2 separate regions of the Homo sapiens genome follow, and region 2 is linked to region 1. The links are contacts of gene promoters, found by promoter capture Hi-C in human tissues and cell types (Jung and others, 2019). All regions are on one chromosome and are shown on one strand. Each heading gives the region's core, a stretch centred on a gene start or on the middle of the fragment in contact. The rest is flanking DNA. Distances are from core to core; before and after follow the strand shown.

What was found. Contacts are between HindIII fragments. The study calls those that stand out against the background at their distance.
Region 2: a fragment that was not itself captured here is called in contact with the fragment with the promoter of KLRC1 in region 1 in 2 of the 25 tissues and cell types used here (adrenal gland and hippocampus).

What each region holds. Positions count from the first base shown.
Region 1 is chr12:10,452,108-10,454,666 of GRCh38, forward strand. KLRC1 (killer cell lectin like receptor C1) reads right to left here and starts at 1,270. Exons shown (of 7, transcript NM_002259.5): 1 at 1,091-1,270. The HindIII fragment of the contact is 6,428 bases long and covers 1-2,559 here.
Region 2 is chr12:10,606,591-10,609,149 of GRCh38, forward strand. It overlaps MAGOHB (mago homolog B, exon junction complex subunit), which reads right to left. Exons shown (of 5, transcript NM_018048.5): 4 at 1,264-1,346. Among named protein-coding and RNA genes, the nearest start is that of MAGOHB, 5.7 kb to the right of the region's middle. The HindIII fragment of the contact is 6,845 bases long and covers 1-2,559 here.

The DNA.
Region 1 (2,559 bases), core at 20-2,519:
TAACCTAAATAGTATTAGGAACACTACATAAATTGTTAATACTTACAGAAGTATTGGTAATTTAATTAGTAATTGGTAATTTATTTCCTGGCTAAATTATGAACCAAAAAATGATAAATAAAAGTATAGGTAATTCATGTTAAAGCACATTTCATTTAAACTTATAGAATGATTTTATGGTTGTCAAAGTGAGTAAAGGCCACTTTAGTTGTATAAGTACTTGTAAAATTTCAGATAATGTAATTAAATCATTTAGTCAATGGGCTCTGGAGTCAGTGAGATCTAGAATTAATTCTAGCTTTGACACTTATAATGTGCGACCTTTAAAAAGTTATTCTATTTTTAATAACCCAGTTTGTTAATCTAAAATGGGCATAAGAACATATAAAACGTTGCATGTAAAACATTTACCACTCAACCTGGCACTTAAAGTTCTCAATAAGCATTAGCTACTTTAATTATTATTTTAGTCACAATTGTTATGTTACTGTTTCTGATTCATGTCAGTTAAAGCATGGAAAATAAATCTTCAGATAAGTCTCCTATGTCCATGCGCTACATCTTTTTTTGCAATATTTTGATCAATTTTTAAAAAGTATTTTTATTGCTTTGTAATACCTTTAGCATTTTATGTAATCTACCTCATTCTGATTTTTATTAAAAATAAAAACTGCTTTTCTCTAATCTACGTGTCTGAGGAATTGTATTTGGCTTTCATCAATTGATTGATTTATTTTAATAATCTTTAATGGCTAAGCTAAATATAAATTATTATTCAAAGATACATGATGTACTGATTACAAAATACAAAATTAATTGTTCATTATTGTGATGTTAATAGCTTTCCCTTAAACGATATTGATCAACAAACCCACTAGATTTCCACAAACAATAATTTGAAAACTTTAAGAAATCCTTCAACATATTTCATATTTTAGGTTTTTACCCTGAGTTATTCAAATGAAGACAGCAATATTCTACTTTGATTTTATTGTATATTAATTATACCTCCTTTGTATCATATTGAGCACTTGAAATCACCCACTAAATGAGGTAGGCTAGTAGAGAGTTGGAGAGTAGCAATACATACCTTCTGTCCCCAGAAAGTCACACATCCTTTAGTGGAGAGGCCAGGTTAGTCTCATAAAAAGGCCTGCTATAGCTGTGTAATAAAAGGTGAAATTTAAAGGCATAAATCCAAGACAAGAACAAACAATGCCTGCAATCTTCGCAGACTGCCCTGTGAAGGCTCAGAGTGAGTCAAGAGTGGAAAAAGTAGATTTCTCATCAACGTGTTACTAAGGTTTGAACAGGAAATTCTACACATGGGCTATTGTGAAATCAGTTTTATCTCATCACACACCTCCAAAATATAGGATACTTGGTCTATTAAAAGTACAAGGTTGACTTTGAAAGTGTGTCATTTAGTTGGTTCATTTTTCAAGTGCCTATGAGAATTTTTTTTTTTTCTGTCTTGATCACGAACATTGTCAACCCTCACCTTGTTAAGAGTGCCTTTTAGACTAGGTTGCTAAATCTTAACATTGCATACTTCTTTTCTTTATATTATTTTATTATGTCACTTCCATTATAATAGAAAACATTCTAAAACTCATAGTAATATTATCAACTGATATCTACTGATTTTTTCCTTAATTATTCTGAAAAATTACTGCAGTAATTACTCAATTGATTGTAGCTGGCACAAAAAGCATCATTGCCAAAGTTATATTATTAACTTCTCTTAGTTCTTAAATTTTTGCACTTAATTTTTAAAAATAGATTATTTAATCTTCAGATTACCCTTGATAAAAATATCTTGGATAGGTAAAATATTAATCAATTTTGAAATATATTAGCATACCAGAAATTGAAATATTAAATAGCTATTCATTACATTCTTCATTTATTCATCCTCCGCCATAACAAATTATGTCGACTTTCATAGAAATATTTAGTTGTAAATGACAAAAACTGAAGTCAAACTATGTATGGGGAAAAAGTAATTTTAAAATCTTACTAGGAGGAAAGTCAGTAAATTGGCAGAATAGGTGGTCCCCCACACATATGCCCCCACAGCAACAATAATTTTTCAGCCATCCACAGACAAAAGTTCCTTTGAGGGAGTTTGGAATTCAAGTAGGAGTTTGTAAAATGCCAGTGGAACCCAAGACCTAGGAAGGTTGTTTTAGGGAATAGATTTGCATCCAAGTGGCAGACTTACCAACAGTGATTCCATCTCCAGACCTGAAAAGGGACCCATCCTCCTGTGCTTGCCTTCAGCCCCATTTAGGCCTTGGTCATGCTGCCAAAACCATTTGCCCAGGGGCCCAGGAGGAGACTCACACACTAGTGTCTCAGGAGGTAGGCATATCAACTGTAGTCTCAATGTAGACCCTGAAACAGCCCTCTAACTTGGCTTTAACTAGTGTCAGCCACAACTTGAGATCAGTCCTTCACCCACAGAGACTTCCTGGGAGACATATACATCTGTACCTCTGGGGCATGCTTGCTGACCTCTGTCCTACAGAAGATACTAAAATGGCCCTGAATCTCCAC
Region 2 (2,559 bases), core at 43-2,542, 150 kb after region 1:
GTTCATATCCTTATGATTGTAATAACCACATCATAAAAATGTCTAATAAAGCAGAAAAAAATAATACTGTAATGCTACCATTTCATAGAATAACTATAAACATTTTGATGTTTCTCTATTTTTTAATAACTAAAATTATTCCTTGTGCCCTTTTTTACATTACTTTCCCCACAGCATTAAAAAAAAAAAATTCCCTAGTAATTTTTAATTAATTTAATAATTCTCTCCTTGTTAGACACTGGGGTTAATTTCCTATTATAAATAATACTTCAATGAGCATCTTCATGCATAATAAAGCTTTTCCAATATTTAGGAATAGTTCCATAGAAGAGATGCTCAGAAATGAAATTACTAGGCCAAAGGTGAATGAAAAATGTCAACAGTTTTTGATGCATATTACCAAACTGCTTTCCAAAAACCATTACCAATTTATAATCCCAGTAGGGTATCAATGCCACACCCTTACCAAATGTAGGAAAAGAAATTTGATAGTTTAAAAGCATTTGGATGGTCTTTGTGAACACAGATTTTGCGTCCAATAGTTATCATGCATTCATTCCTTTCTCCTTTCCACTAACAAATATTTATTGAAAGCATCTATTATGTGCAGGGCACTATGCTAACTCTGTGGATACAGCAAGGTTCTCAAGGAGCTTACATTCAAACCAGTAAAGCAGACAAATAGGTTATTACAATTCAGGGTGACAGAAAAAAGTAAGAGCACTATGGGGACACTTTGAGGGGAATGGGCACAAATAAAAATAAGTGGCTAGGATCAGACCAAGAAAATGGGATGTGCTACAAAACCCTGGGGCAGAGGAGAGACAGATCTTGGGAAGACATCGATAGCTAAAGCATACTTAGGCCATAATGGATTTTTTCCATCTTTTTCCCAAGTATTGAGCCCAAGAAGGACAGTGAGATGATATAGGCCTAATGAGGCTGACATAATCCAATAAGGATTTCTTTCCTTTGGATTTGCTGATACTGTATCCACATTTTTATACAAAGTAGCTAATACAACTTGGGCATTATTATATACAGCTGTTGGATTAAAAGTTTTTGGACAATCAATGAAATACTCTGCTAACTTCTACTGAGAGACAAGATAATAAGCCTTTAATGACATAAAAATCAGGATTACATCTGCATAATAAACTGATAGGATGCCACTGAAATTATCTTGGCTAGCAAACTGACTATAGTTCTAAAATGAGCCTCTGTAATAATGAAAACTTCGCCAAAATGCTTTAACATACTTACTTTGACTGATTTACATCAATAAGAGAACCTATTTTTGATGTGGTAAAAGATATGTGCTCATCTCCAATTACAATTTCAAGCTCCTAAAAAATATAGCAGAAAAATGTAGTTAATATAAAAATCTATCCCAGAGGTATCTGTATTCTTGCTACAAGCAGATCCCAATTTTAGTTGCAAGTTTTCTAGCAGCCAACAGAGGGAGTGGGGGGCGAGGGGGAAAGAAACATGGTTTCTTAGATATAAACTATATCCTTAAAATAAAGACTGCTCACGCGCACTACCCCCAAGTTTAGGACCAACAAAGAATTGCTTTCCAGAGACATAAAGAAGACACTATGAAACAAAATGACAAAGAAATATTTCTTACAATGTCAGTAAAAACTAAAGACATCACTTTGAAGCACATGTTGTAAAAATGATTGGAGTATAAGACCATTTTTAATATGATAAATACACATTTTTTCTTTCTGGAAGATTCTACAAATAAAATGTGTAATATTAATAACCACCACCACTTTAGCACCTACTGTATGTCAGGCCCTAGTGGTAGGGACTTTGTACTCTCTGTAATCTTGAAAATAACCTTACTAACCTATTTTACAAATGTGTAATCCAAAACTCATAGAGCAGAAGAAAATACTTGTTGATATTTATAACCACTAATAATGATGGTACTTATATTTGATCCCAAGATGGTAAGACTTCAAAACTAATACTCCACAAAATAACTAAAATTAAGAACTAGTAAAAAAAAAAAAAAAAAACCAACCTAATGTAGATGTTCCTAGTGTGCTGTAATTACTGTATAGATTTTTCCCTATATTGTTTATCTGCAGGCCTAAAACCAATAATTAAAAAGCTATATCTGTAATGAATCTTCAAGTTAACAGACACTATTGAAGACAATCCTAGCTATTTATTTAATCAGAGGCCTAATTATGCAGTTTATGACACACACAGAATGGAGAATTAGCTAAGATGCTCTAACAGCCATAAAACCTTTGACTTGATACAAAAGGCAATTTCTGAAGCATGCCTACTCCTCCCCACTAACCAAAACCCATGAACACATCCTTAAGTGAATAGATAAAATACTAGGCTCTCCCTGAGTCTAAATGATATAAAAGGTTAGCTGCTGTGGTTTGCTTTTTAGTACATATGTGTATCTGCATAAAACAAACTGAGGCCTAAATTTACTTTTTAAAAGTGATACGATGCTTAAAATAAATACTGTTAACTATTACCTTTGCTTTTCTAAATAATGCTTCTTTAAGCAGAAGACTTAAGTTACTCCTA